3 separate regions of the Homo sapiens genome follow, and all the other regions are linked to region 2. Evidence: promoter capture Hi-C in 16 types of primary human blood cells and fetal thymus (Javierre and others, 2016). All regions are on one chromosome and are shown on one strand. The core of a region is centred on a gene start or on the middle of the fragment in contact, and the rest is flanking DNA. Distances in the headings are between cores, read along the strand shown.

Region 1 (4,625 bases), core at 1,842-4,341, 280 kb before region 2:
GCCTCAGGAATGTCACCTGGGGTCTGCAGGATTGGAGTGGGGCAGGGAGCTGGAGCATGGTTCCCTGGTGAGGCTTTGCCTGGGCCGTGTGAACAGGGACAGGCCACATTCTGAGGAGCCTGGCTCTACGCCAGTTCTTGACCCCTGCTCTGCCTCTGAATCTAAAATTCTCATATTTGAAACTGGGTCAAGGTAAACGTGGGTGATGTGTTGGTGGTAGATATGATGATATAAAGACTGGAGTGTCAGAGTCGATGTTTTAACTCCAGCCTGGGTTAGACTTCAGGTGAGTACTCAACATATGACTGGAGAAACACACTTGTCATATTTTGATCAGGGCTCTTTAAAGGTGAGTAAGTTGGATGTGATTTTCATTTTGTATTTTGTACTATATCTTTAAAAAATCCAAGTCCGGAGAGGGTGAGGACAGAGATGCGTACGATGGAGACCCTCACACTTTGTGGGGACATTAGCACTGGGGATCTTCTGAGGCCAGGGACCTTTTCTTTCTCCTCAAACTGGGGATAACCTTAAGGCCAGGACTGTGTCTCTCCACTGCATTCCCTCTGCAGGCTCCAGAGGGTGGGGCTGTCTTCTTCCTCATCCCGGGGTCTCCCTGAGGTTTGCTATGTCCTGTCTTCACACTGGGGCTTCCCTGGCAGCAAGGGCTTCCTCCAACACCGGATGAAGTCTAGGAACACTTAGGCCTCAAATTGAGGAACCTGTGATGGACAAAAATAGTAGCATGCATTACAAAAGGGCAGAATTGTCATTTTCCTTCTGCCTCTGTGGCCAGCATGGCAGGCATTTGGCAAAGGGCAAGGGGAGGCATGGTTCCAGCATCTGGAATCATCACACTGACTTTGTGTATGTATGTGTGTGCGTGTGTGTGTGTGGTATATGGTGTGAGAGAGTGCAGTGTGTGAACCTCATGCAGGTGAGTCTCTGGGGGGTGACGGGGAAGAGGTGCTCCCTCTTCTAGGAGGACATGGTAGGGGCAGAGAAGCAGGCATGGGCTGAGTAAACCCATGCAAAGTCTGATTAGGGCTTAAAGTGTGTTTGCCATCTGGGCCTGACTCAGCCTCTGGTGTCAAAGGTTCAGGCGAGGTTGCTTTGTGAACAGGGTGGAGTAGTCCGGGTCCACTTGTGGAAACTCTATAAATGGAAGCCTGGGCTTCGGTGTTGGCTTCCCTCCTGGTTTGGGGAAGTGCTGCTCAGTCCTGCCTCCTCCCACTCACCTTCCCACACCTGGACACCTGCAGCCAGGCATCTTTCATGAAGGCCTCTTCTGTCCTAGAGTAGGTCTGAGCTGGGATTTTCTTTGAGCAGCAAACCAATCCAGCTGCATCCAGGAACCCCACAGACTGCCCTGCTTGGTACCTCCCTTTGCTCCTCAGTCCACTCTGTTCTGTTCTGGCCTCTGTGTCCCCACTCAGGCTGTCCTCATCAAGGTCACCAGCCACTCTGCATTTCTTGACCAGTTAGTATTGGTTGACTCCATTGATTTTCCTTCCTTTCTTGGACACCTGTCTTCTCTTGTCTTTCCAGTCTCCACCCTCCTAGTTTCTCTTCCTTCACTGACCGCTCTTTGTCAGCTGGCTGTACAGGCTCCTTCTGCGCTGTCCAACCTTGAGATCTTGTGGAGTCCTCAGCTCGGTAGGGCCCTCTCTTCTTCTCCTTGGGTGATCTCAGCCACTCACATATCTTTAAATACCTTCTATGTGATGACAGCTCTCAAATATGTACATTTTTGGCCCAGATATCTCTGAGCTTCAGACATGTACCCACATATCTCCTAGTCCTCACCTCTCTGCATCCACCTAGTGGCCTAAGCCATAAACTTGGGAGTATTTCTGCCTTCTTTCTCCTCCTTTACCCCACACATTGAGTCCCCCTGCTACTCCTGTTAGTTATTCCTCCAAAACACTTAGCGTCACCCTCTTGTCTTTGTCTCCACTGCTGCCATCTACCACCTTTAGCCATAACTCTAGTAGCAGGTCCTTCCTCTCCCTATTTCATGCTTCCTCCAACATCCAGCCTTTATACATTTTGCAGATGGAATAATCTTTTGAAGCTTTGAATCAAATAAAAAGCCTCTACTGAGACCCCTTCGGGGTCTTCCCGATGCATTTTGAAAAACATCTGAACAGTATATACATGTTGTCTGAGGTTTGATGGGATACATGCTCAGGCAGGTGTGTGTTTATGCCTGTGAACAAACCTAAACAGATGCAGGTGCATATTCACCCTGGCCACAATGTGCCCACCCCAAGATAGCCCTATTGTTTAGGGTCTGGGACCCATCAGTGTCTGGCATCATGCTTGGCATTAGGTGCTCAGCAGGAGCTCAGTGAATGGATAAATGAGCTTTTGGTGTCCTCTAAGTGTAAACTCCACAAAAACAGCACTTTTGGTCTGTTTACTGCTACATCTCCAGCACCTAAAGGAAAGCTTGGCATACAGTAGCTACTCAACAAAGATTTGTTGAATGAAAAAATAAATGAATGAGAACACAATGAGTAATCTACAGATAGGCTTTGTCATTCTGGCTATTTAGGAATCAAAGGTAATGTGTTCAGTGACACTTTTGTCAGTCAATTCACATTCAAGAAAATGTTCCCTCAGATTTCCTCTCACCTCCAGCACGCTGCCATTGCCACCATCATGTAACCCATCATTTCTGTTGCTCTCACCTCAGATCGGCCTTTCCACATTACCCGAGCTAAAGAGCACCCCTCTTCCCTGGTCATTTTGTTTCATTTTCTTCAATTTCTTATTTATGCATTTGCTGAGTTGCTTTTTGTCTGTCTTCCTCCTCATGTGAGCTCTGGGAGGCAGGGATTCTGTGTATCTGGTTCGCTGCTGTAACTCCAGTGCTTGGCTCATAGGAGATTCTGTGTCACTTACTCTCACATAGGAGAAATTTGTTTTAAGGGAACAATAGAAGTGGTGGAGTCTAGATTTGAATTCCAGAAGTCTGATTCCTGAGCCTATGTCCTGAACCATTATTCGTGTTGCTCCCACCCTATAAGTAATGTAACTCTGTCTTGCACATATAGCCTTCCTCTGACTCTGTTAGATGCTGCATCTCTGTACTCTTGTCTTCTCCACATGGAGCATTGACTGGACCCGAGTGTGTGCGGCCATCTCCAACTCAGGCCAGACTGGGTGTGATTAGTAGAAGGCCAAGTGCCTCTATGGCCAGCAGGTGGTGCTGTTGGGAAGAGAAGAGAAAAGGGGTCCCCAGCGGCTTCTAAAGGAGGGAGGACTGGTTATGAGGCTGGCTTGGGAACCGGGTGATGAGGGAGGTTGAGTTGAGAAGGCCCTGCCAGCTGACCACCTCTTTTCTTTCAACCATGAATGGCGGTGGTGGCCCCCACGATACCACAGTCACCACCATCACCCCTGACCGACAACTCCAGAACACCAAGCTCCCCTCTGAGCTGGCCCTACAGGGCGAGTGGCCAGACTCTCACATGCTCGTCAGTTGAGACAGGGTCTCAAGGATGTAACCCAAACTATACATTCATTTAGTGTAAAGGTTATTCCTTCATGCATTATCCCCTGGATAGGCGACCTTAGGGGATGCCTCTCACTCCCTACCCTAGTTTTTGATGAACTCCTAAGCCATAGATTCAGTTTTAGAGATAAGTATAATAGTCCTTAAAGTATGATATTAAACATGACAGAGAGTGTGTCATCAAAGGTATTTCCCCTGGGTTAAAGCTTGTATTTTTAAACCAAGAATATGGGCATTGGAATCAGATGAGCTGGGTTTCAGCTCTGGCATTGATACTTACTGGCCGGATAATCTTGGTCAAGCTGTTAAACCTTTTGGGTCCTCAGATCATTTATCATTCATTCACTCACTTATTCCCATGTACCAGGATCTAATGGCAAACCACTGTGCCTTAGAAGAAGAGAAGTGAGTGGGAAGAGGTTCCAGTATTTGAGCAATCCCTGGGTGACCAGCCTGGCTGGACCCTCCCACCCCCATGCCTGCTCTCCATGTTGTCACTCAGTGTGGGCACTTCCTGATCCTCAGTGGCATTCAGCATTTTGCACACTCTCTCCTTCCTGACTTTTCTCTTAAATCATTGACTCCTTCTTAATCTTTTGCCAAGGGCTCTCTCTCTTCTCAACCTTTAGCTGTTGAGGTTTCTCAGGGCATGGTCTTAAGTTCCCTTCTTTTCTTAATCTATATTCTGTCACTGGATGATCTATACACCCCAAAGCTAGAATGCTACCCCTACGATGATGGCTCCCAAGTGTAGATCTCCATTCCTGAATTTTTCCCGCGCTCCTGACTCATAGATGTAAGTGCTTACTTTGTATTTCTGCTTGGTTATTCTGTATGCGTCTCAAAATTGACAGGTTCAAAACTGAGCCCCTGGTCTTCTTACCTGGACTGCACCCAAACCTGTTCCTCCTTCAGTCTTTCCCAGCTGCTTCTGGAAATGGTGGCTGCTGCTGCACAGAGACTTGGCTATAGCCATGGTGTCCCCAGTGGCTCCCGCTTCACCTCTTGCTTGCTTCCTCTAATCCATTCTCCACACTTTAACTAGAGCAATATTTACAATCTGCAAATTGAATCTTGTCACTCTCTGCTTAAAAATCTTTAATGC
Region 2 (4,992 bases), core at 1,470-3,969:
TCCTTTTCCTCTACTGCGCAGGTCTTTTTGGCAGGCTCTGTTGCTCTGTCTGGGCCTAGGAGAATGCTTTTCCTTGCACATGTTCTCTGGGTGAGCACTGTCTCCCCGTGGTTCTTTCCTGCATCTTCATTTTCTGTGAATGTGGTGTGCGTCTGTGTTGCAGAAGTCCCCACCTCTTTTCCTGGTACGAGCCTTGTAAATGTCTGGGCATCTCAGAAGGCTCCTCCCCGTGCCTTCTCCTGCACCTGCATCCCACACTTGGCTCTGCTTAAGTTTTGGGTTGGGGGCAGGATAAAAAAATCTGCAGAAATGCGGTGGGGCGCGGTGATTCACGCCTGTAATCCCAGCACTTTGGGAGGCCGAGGCAGGCGGATCACGAGGTCAGGAGATCGAGACCATCCCGGCTAACACAGTGCAACCCCGTCTCTACTAAAAATACAAAAAAATTAGCTGGGCGTGGTGGTGGGCGCCTGTAGTCCCAGCTACTTGGGAGGCTGAGGCAGGAGAATGGCGTGAACCCGGGAGGCGGAGATAGCAGTGAGCCGAGATCGCGCCACTGCACTCCAGCCTGGGCAACAGAGCGAGACTCCGTCAAAAAAAAAAAAAAAAAAAAAAAACTGCAGAAATGCTACATTTTCAAACAACAAAATCATCAGACCAAGACATTCATGCCAGAGGAATTCTGTTTTAATTGTTTGAAAACAGGAGCTGAGGGGAAGCGTGGTAGGAGAAGATGCCTGTGCATGCCGCTCATGTTTCCAGCAGGGCAATGTAGATGCATGTCAGGAAAGATGATTAGATAGTTTAGAACCAGATCCTTGTCTGAGATGGAAACTGCAGCTGCTAATTAAGAAGAGTAGAGCTCGAGGAAGCCGCCAGCTGCCAGCCTGGTGCTGCCTCTCCTGCAAGTGTGAAGTGTGGCTGCATCCAGAAGCACTGGTGAGCAGGGCTTTGCTTGGCCTGTGGAGTGTAAGATGCTGGCCCAGAAGGAACTTCATGCTCTGTTTTTCCTGGGGGTTCGCCTCTGATCACATGCCCAGGGCTTACTTCTGCTTGGACGTCTGGCACTGCTGAGGGGGTGGGCACTTGGGGGCACAGGGCTCCTGGCACTTGGGTGGGGGCTGGCAAGGCTGCTTGGTCTGTTGGGGTGGGGGGCAGTACTGCTGAGGTGGAGGGCAGCACTGCTGGGGTGGGGGACAGCACTGCTGGGGAGGGGGGCAGCATTGTTGAGGCGGCGGGCAGCACTGCTGGGGTGGGGGGCAGCACTGTTGAGGCGGGGGGCAGCACTGCTGGGGTGGGGGGCAGCGCTGCTGGGGTGGGGGGCAGCACTGCTGCGGGGGAGCACACTGCTTCTGCTTCTGCTGAGACATTCTGGGCTGGACTTGCAACTGGAAACAGAAAGACACAGAAATGAGGAACACTTGAGCCATAGAGAGACCCTAAGCCCAGGTGAACCCCCTGCCACATTCCTGTCCTGCTCTGCTTTTACCTTGCCCTGATCCCTTCACAGATTTAAGAGGAGTGTGTGTGTGTGTGTGCGCGCGCGCATGTGTAAACTTTAAGTGTTTACAAGTTATTTCAACTCTTTTCAAGACAAAGAAACATGGAAGGAAGGAAAGATAGGAAAGGAGGAAGGGAGGGAAAACAGAAATGTTAGGAGGGGTTGAAAAGAAAGAAAAACATAAAAAAAGAAAAGGGAGAGAGAGGAAAAAAAAGAGGAAGAATGAAAGAGCAGACTGTTGTATCCTATTATAGCAAAACCTGTGGCATCTGGAATAAATTGCCTGGGATCTGAGTTCTGGCTAAATCATTTATTAACTATATGATTTTGAGCAACTAAGGTTTTCCATACTTACCTCTCTTAGAGTTGGTGCAAAAATTAAATGAGTATATAAAATACATACTTAAAATATGCATGCATACGTAGGTATGTATGTACCGACACACACATGCAGAGTAGTAGCACAAAATGAACACTATATAAGAGTTGTAATTTGTTAAGTAAATTCATAAACAATTTAAAAGGCGCATCTTAACCACTCTCTAAAGGAGTTTATAAAGAGAAAACTCTAGAGATAGATGAAATGGACTATCTAGCTTGCCTCTCTCAATTACAGTTGAGGAAAGCAAACCTCAGAGGGAAGGAATGGCTTCAAAGCCACTCGGCATAGATGGTGGGAAAAGAGGTCTCCTGATTCCCAGAGCAGAGCCTTCCATGGTGCCACATCGTCTTGTCCCTGCAGCCCTTTGCTCCATGGACATCCACAACTCTGCTGTCCCAAGGGAGTCTGTTCTCTTTCCTTCCTGCCTTCTCTTTTCTTTGAAAGGACAGTCCTTCCAGTTGCTCTGCCCAGAACTGGTCTCTCCTCTCCTACTAATTCCCTCTTAGCACCTGACAAGATGCAACACCCACACCATGCCAGCAGCATCGCTGAGATACTGACCCTCTTGTAGATACCCCCCTCCTTCTCCCTGCTCAGCCCAGCCTCCCACACTACTCTGCTGGATAACTTGCTGGACCCAAGATAGGTTTGTCACAAATGATATGGAAAAAAGAGGTACCCCAAAAGACCCATCCTTTCTGACCACCACCCAGAGAATCAGCCCAGTCCATAGTTGGTTAGGGATGCAGGCAAGGCAAGGCTGCTATAAGAGGTACTACCTTTCCAGACTTACCAAGGTTCACCAGCGACTGGAGCAGATAGGTGTGGAGGGGTTTGGGATGCTCTGAGCCTATCTACCTTTTATATACCTCTCATCCCTGCCTGAGGCCATGAGGTGGCCCAGGATTGGGGTGTCCTAATTAGTCCCTAGTCACAATAGGATCCACCTGTCCTTCCTCAAATTTTAAGTTTTACTCACCCCCAGGGCTGGTATGGCGGGATTTGGAGATGACAGTGCCTTCACCCTCCCCTTGCCTCATCTCCCCATCATTTTACGAGGACTGGCTTCCTTGGATTTCCAAACCCACTCATGACTTTTGACTTAGATCCCTGGCATCTAGGATGGTCCCAAGCAAGCATTCCGACCATGCTGGGTGTGGGGGTGTGAGGGCAGTGTTCTGGGATGTTCTGGTTGGCAGAGAGGAGGGGATGGGACAGGCAGCTTATGCAGGTAACATAAGAAAACAGCTGAGGGGGCAGATGGCTCTCTTGGAAACCCACCACCCTCAGCAAAGTTGTGACTTTGACTTGACCTAGGCTCAGAGTCACATTCAGCTTGAACTGGTGGGAAGACAAGACAAGAGGCTTTCATTTTTTACCTATTGTTATTTATACAAGAAATGGCAGCTGCCACTCTCTGTCTGTTCTGCTATTGGGAAAATCGTTAGGCCCCATTCGGGGAAACTGGTTGGTTACAGTAGATAGTGCTTATCTCTAAATCTCCCTACATATATCACATATCCATATGACTCCAGGGTTCCCAGGGAAATGATTATCATAAGGTGGAGGGGGTGGGGGAAGCTAAGAAGCATTGCATTAGAGTGAGCTCATGGAGGAGTCACAGTGACTGGATTCTGGGTTCTGAGCTCCTGGGGCCCCAGTCCTGGCTCTTCCTCCTAACTTCTGTTAGAAGTTCCAGGACAAAGAAGGGTGGCACGGGATACAGACTTGGATGCTTCCCATACCTGGCAAAGGATGGAGCTCATCTTTAAAAAATTCCCAAGTGGTGCTCAGACTGAGGCTCTGCCTTTTACCAGTTGGGTGACCTTAGGAACCAGATGTTTTTGCACTTCAATTTTCTCACCTGCTAAAGAGGGTAACAGCACCATTCTGCATGTCAGTTGTAAGGATTAAAATGGACAACTTATTTAAAGTATGTGCAAGTGTTTGGCACAAAATGCATGGTCAACAGTCGTTGGGTGCTCCATGGAGATGGGCTTTGAATACTAGGGCAAGACACACTCTTAGAAATATGGAATAGGAAGTTGAAAAAAGTTGGAGGCAAGTAGTGGCACTTGCCACCCAGTGTCATAAGCTCTTGGTTGAAAGAGACAGGAGGAATAAGTTCAAGGAATCCACTGGAAGTCATGTTGACTATAGTTAATAACAATATGTGACATGAAAATTGCTAAATGAGTAGATTTTAAGTGTTTTCGCCACACAAAAATGATACATATGTGAGGTAATACATGTATTAAATAGCTTGATTTAGTCATCCCACAATATATTCATATATCAAAACATCACATTGTACACTGTACATATATATAATTTTTACTTTTCCCCTAAAAATACATTAAAAAAGACTTTTGAGTGAGAGAAATGGAAATAGGCAAGCTAGTCCTGAAGATGGCACATTTTAAATCTCAGCCATGAAATTTAGCCATGGTTCCACTATTTAATAAAAGCCTTAGAACATCCCAAGACCTTGGGGAGTCATGCTGCATCACTAGAAGACACAGGTGTGGAAACCGATGTTCTCTCTCTTAAACCATGGTCCTGACTCTCTGGGATCACAAGATGTGCACGGGCTAGTAACTAAGGAGGGCCAGAGGAGTCCAGCCCTTCCCAGGAGGAGAATCCCTTCAAGCTGGTATCACTCAGACAGAAGCAGCCCCAGAAAGCCTGAGAGAGGGATTTCAGCTCAGGTCCCTAATAGCAGAGAAGAAAGACTATGTGGAGTTGTTATCCTGGGCTAACCATTTATTCATTAAGATGCAATTGTTCCATGTGCCAGGCACTATGTCCATGCTGGGGATGCAGGGGGAAGCAAGGATGGCCAGGCCCTTGCTGTTTCCAAGGCAACAGGACAGAGGGAAGCCTGGCTTGGCAAGTCTGTCCTTGTGAATCAGGCCTTTGTAGATGGGAAGGGGCACTAAAACTGTGTCACGTCCTCTTACCTTCTTACTTCCAACTCTTACAGATACTTTTCAATTGTTAGGTTTGTATTAACCAAAGAAATCAAACCCACATGTCACTGGAATGATGCCTACATGGCTGAAGAAAGTGTGAACATCAGCTAATTTGTGGGGCTTGGGGTGTTAAATCC
Region 3 (4,798 bases), core at 955-3,454, 270 kb after region 2:
AGTAAGAAGGTAAACATATTAATAAGAGGCTCCATCTCTGTCAAAATCCGTCTTTGCTGAATCCATTATCTTCATGTCGACACCTGTCAGCCTGAACCTAAGAAGCACTAGCCCTTGTTTCCCCTGCTGTGTCCCTGCTTCCCTCCCCTTCCTCTAGTAATACTTAAGATGCCCCACCCATCCTGGCGCTTCTCCCCCCTCACATTCTGAGGGTGGCTTGGCAAAAAAGATAAGTATTGAAGGAGGAAAGGTCTATTCTTTCATACAGCGTTTTGTATTCTTTGTATTCTTATGTTCCTTATATTCTTTGTATCTTCTAAGCAACACTTCCATGTTTTTTCACTTAATATCTCCATCACTCATCACTCCCCTGCCCAGCACGTGAGCCAAGTGGCAGGACAGCATCCTGGGACTCAGATCTAACACTGTGAGGAACTGAAGCCAGGTGTCCAAGGCAGCAAGTCAAAAGGCTGATCTTAACCAGACTCATGAAAAGAAGCTGAGTGACCATGGGCTGTACTTTACAGGAGGAAGGGTCTCAACATCTGTTTCAAGCATTTTATCCAACTATTGATTCTAAGGGCAGGAAAGTTTTGCTTCATAGGGATGTGTTCTTCTCCCTAGAGAAGAACAAGTCTGCAGAGCTTCCCAACCTTCCCAACGTCTGGATTACACAGAAAATTAGAACATGTGTCTGGCTTAGTGGAGAGAAAGGCAAAGCTACCATAGCCAGAGGTGACCCTCTTGGAGCTCCATTCACTCAGCATCTGGGGGAATCAGTTCCTCAGAGCAGCTTTTCATGTATCACCTACTCATGTCCTGTCCTAGCCTCATGAAGAAAATTACTCTGAGGCCCTGACCTTTGGAGGACATTTGAAATCTCAGAAGAGAAGAGAATGACCAAGACATTTAGTGAGTCAGAGATCAGAGCTTTATTATAACATGAGGTAAAGGAGGAAAAGAAGACTTGCAATTGGGGTGTTACATCAAGCACGAAGTTCTTCCAGGAAAGCCCCATGAGTCTTTGTGGTCTCTGCCAACCAATGAATGGAATGAGAGGAAGTGGAAAGAGTATCCATCAGGCCGTAGCAGGTTCTTGGCCATTCAGTCCCAAGAGCTCTTCTGTAGCCCAGGTCAGCAGCAGCCCCCAGAGCTGTGGCAGCAGCCAGAGCCCCCAGAAGGTTCACTCTCACAGCAGTCGGGGCTCTGGTGCCGGCGCCGGTGGAAGAGACGGGGCCTGTGGTGGCTCAGGGAGCAGCCACCAGCCCCAGAGCTGCAGCAGCCCCCAGAGCTGGGACCACAGCAGCTCCCAGAGCTGGGACCACAGCAAGAAGAGACTGCAGGGAAACATGGAGCTGGGCACTGTGGTGGGCATTTGGGGGGACACTTAGGTGGACATTTTGGGGTACACTTGGGAGGACACTTGGGAGGGGGCTGGCACTGCTGCTGGTTTTGCTGGCAAGACATGCTGGCAGGAGTTTAGTCAACCTGAAAGATAATAATGAAACTCTTTAAATATTTCAAACCAAGGATCATATTATACCTCTTCTAAAATCAATGCATGTGTAGAAGAAGAATGATATTTAGATAATACAATCACATCAGTAACCTGAAAGAAACAACTTGAATCTTTCCTCTAGATAAAAGTACGTAGATAAAAAATCAACAGAATGAGCTTCTTACTCTTCCTTTCAGGGGAAACTGCGATTGCTCTATCCTCACAAGCCCGAATAGAGTATTCACAGCTCCCTGAAGTACCTATTCCTTTAATACAAGCCCTAAGGACAAGCTGGGTGTTGCAGGACATACCAAGGGGTCCTCTGGAAAATATTTTGCAATGAAACCTCCAGATAAAAGAGCCTGGCTTGAAGTATTTGCCAGTTTCCATGGTGTAAATATGCCCAACACAGCAGTTTTGAAGTTACCAACATGAAGTCACTGAACACAGAATTGGAAAAGATGTGCACAGTTAGCTTTCCCCACCTATATGAGCTCCGGTAGGCCTCAGAGCCTCAACAGATTCGAGGCAGGCTGAGTCCCATTCCTGCTCAGTATGGCAGAACACAAGCACACAACTCTTTCTCCAGCCTACCTCCATCCTCCCCATCCCTCTGCCTTGCTCATACCCCTCTGGTATCCCAGGTTGCCACTCACCCTGGTCACACGCAGGAGCACAGACACGTCCCTGGGGAGTCAGAGCAGATGAGATGCTGAAGCTGGATGTGTCTTTTATAGGGCCCAGGCTTGGCTCTGGAAAGAGCAGGAGGTGGCTCTTGCACAACCAGGCACACGCTGGGTCATTCCTGACATTCTCCTGCCTCTTAGTCCCTGCAATCCAAAGAGGCCTCAGGAGCTTCCAGGACTCCTCTCTGGGGCTGCAGTCTAGAGAGGCTGTAGCCAGTCAGAGCCTCCACCAGGTGGGAACCCTAAAGAGTTAACTTAGGGTACCCAAGGGACCCACACCTGGACAAGATTCTGTTCCCTGCATTTTTTTAATGCATGTCCTCTGAGGAAACATCAGTTCTGAGCCACAGCTTTCCCTGACCTTGTGGAAATGTTCCATTATGACTCCCTCCACCCTGAGCAGTTTCTCTTCCATGTCCTGCTGTGGATCCAGCCATCCCAGAGGGCTTCTACAGCCTTGGCTTTTTCTAGGCATCCCTCCCTTGCCTAGGCTCTCAGCCCTTCCTCCTGGCCTCTGTGTTTCTGCTTTTCCTCCGACTCACCATGGCAAGCAGATTCGGTGGATTAAATCTGAGTTGATTCTGTCACCTAAAGCAAGGAGAATGATTGAGAATAAACAATTCCCTCTAAAATCTAAACATTTCCTTCAGTCAGAGGACTTGTATTGAATGTGCTACTGGAATCAGAAAACTTGCATATGATAACTGGGTAATCTCTGAAAGTTGCTGTAACAATTATCAATAATTGCTAGAGTATTACTATGATACTCACTGTGAGTATCAGTTCTCACATATAATGCCCATTATAAACCTATCAGTGAGATATACCTATCTCACTGAGCTGTTTGTAATATAAAGTGAGAAGCAAGAAAGAGCTAAGTATGACATTTTGTGCCTGATAGACCCTTAATAAATATATGTTTAATAGAAAAACTAATGCCATGTATTGGATACTTGCCCCGGTCTTATGTGTCATTAATTGCCCATATAGAGCCCTTACCCTCAGAGAGCTTAACTCCACCAGACACTTAGATTATTTGAAACCTGTCTTGGGAAGTAGACATCATTTCTTGGGGCTCCTATGCAGAGGGAACTCCTTTCCTACCAGGAAGTAGAGGGTCAGCCAGGAATCTAGTTATTCAGAGTTCTGATTCAGGGTTGCACTAGACAGAGTTACCCAGTCATTTATTCATTTAGTTTAAACAGATACATTGAGTGTGAACCTTGAAAACATTACACTACGTGAAAGAAGCCAGTCACAAAAGACTGCATATTGTATGATGTTATTTATATGAAATGTGTAGAGTAGGCAAATCTCTGGAAATAGAAAGGGGATGAGGCTTTAGCCAGTTACAGCCTCTCCCAGGCTGGACCCCTGAAGAGCTGACTCAGGGCATCCGAGGAACAAGAGCCTGGATGAGATTCTGTTCCCTGTATCTCCTTTTATGTTTATGCCTGTCCTCTGAGAAATATCAGTGGCTTCCAGGTGCTTTAGCGGGCTGGGAGATATTGAGAAGTTACTGCCAATGGATACAGGTTTTCTTTGTGAAGTAATGAAAATGTTCTAAAATTATGGTGGTGATTGTCCAACTCTGTGAATATACTGAAAACCATTGAATTTACACTTTAAACAAATGAACTACAAATATGTTAATTACATCTCAATAAAGGTGTTAAAAATTAGAATTGAAAAAAATAGATATTCACACCTCTGATTAAAACAGAAACAGACTGTGCCTTCACATTGCCTAATGCCTACTTAGTGGGGGAGGGGAGGATGCGGAGAAAGCATAGTTTCCCATTGTCAGCTTCTAACTGAGGGATTCTGTTCTCCTAGTTATGCAATCCTATTATCAGATCTGATTCCTGCTCTCAGGAAGCTTTTACCTGAAGGATAAAGTAAGTCAACAGTGTGGTCAGAGCAGTGAATTCAAAAGGCATTCTTTGAAAGCCTACAACGTTCTTGAATCATGTATGTCCAAATATAGGGATATAGAGGTGAATAATAAGTAGCCCATGACCTCAAGGACTGTAGAATTTTTGTAGCCTTTTTGAAGATGACTGCAGACAAACATAGGTCCAAAGAAGATGACGTTTGGGGCCTGAACCTCCTGAGTCACTATTTCCCAGTGTGATTAGAACATGTTAGTTCATTCCACTGTCTTCATGGTGATATCACCCTCAGCTTCCTCATACTCTTTGACAAAGATATTTGTAACAATGTGGTAAGTGAGGAAGTAGGGGAGGCAAGTCTGTGTCTGTGTGTGTGTGTATGTGGGTGTGTGCTCTGTATGTGTGTATGTTGTATTTATACAAAAATTCAGGTAAAATGAACATGCACATACATGAGCGTCTGTATTGAGTGGTTGAATAAGCGATGGAAGAATTAATGGGACCCGATCCCCTGGGAAACCAGAACTGGGAGATAAGCAGCTGTTTAACATGTCCCCTTTGTCCCTTTATATCTCAGAAAATGTTGATAATTAGTTCACAAGTCAGTGAAGAAACACCTGCCTGCAAGTATTCTTGCTTCTGTCTCCACAGCCCTCACATCATCATAGGTGATCCCTCTGAGCCAGAAGACCCCATGTCACATTGTGCATGTTCCCTCAGGG

Evidence for each region. Contacts are between HindIII fragments. The CHiCAGO score rates a contact against its expected background, and 5 or more counts as called.
Region 1: a fragment that was not itself captured here is called in contact with the fragment with the promoter of SPRR5 in region 2 in 1 of 17 cell types (erythroblasts); the score reaches 8.0 in erythroblasts.
Region 3: the fragment with the promoter of LCE2C here is called in contact with the fragment with the promoter of SPRR5 in region 2 in 5 of 17 cell types (M0 macrophages, total CD4 T cells, erythroblasts and 2 more); the score reaches 11.0 in M0 macrophages.

Annotation. Positions count from the first base shown.
Region 1 is chr1:153,228,043-153,232,667 of GRCh38, reverse strand. No RefSeq gene overlaps it. Among named protein-coding and RNA genes, the nearest start is that of PRR9, 13 kb to the right of the region's middle. The HindIII fragment of the contact is 1,275 bases long and covers 2,454-3,728 here.
Region 2 is chr1:152,944,933-152,949,924 of GRCh38, reverse strand. SPRR5 (small proline rich protein 5) reads right to left here and starts at 2,719. Exons shown (of 2, transcript NM_001395435.1): 1 at 2,677-2,719; 2 at 670-1,388. The coding sequence starts at 1,370. The coding sequence ends at 1,044. LINC01527 (long intergenic non-protein coding RNA 1527) reads left to right here and starts at 715. Exons shown (of 2, transcript NR_183723.1): 1 at 715-939. The HindIII fragment of the contact is 11,414 bases long and covers 1-4,992 here.
Region 3 is chr1:152,672,685-152,677,482 of GRCh38, reverse strand. It overlaps LCE2C (late cornified envelope 2C), which reads right to left and starts at 2,204. Exons shown (of 2, transcript NM_178429.5): 1 at 2,155-2,204; 2 at 914-1,488. The coding sequence starts at 1,467. The coding sequence ends at 1,135. The HindIII fragment of the contact is 8,836 bases long and covers 1-4,065 here.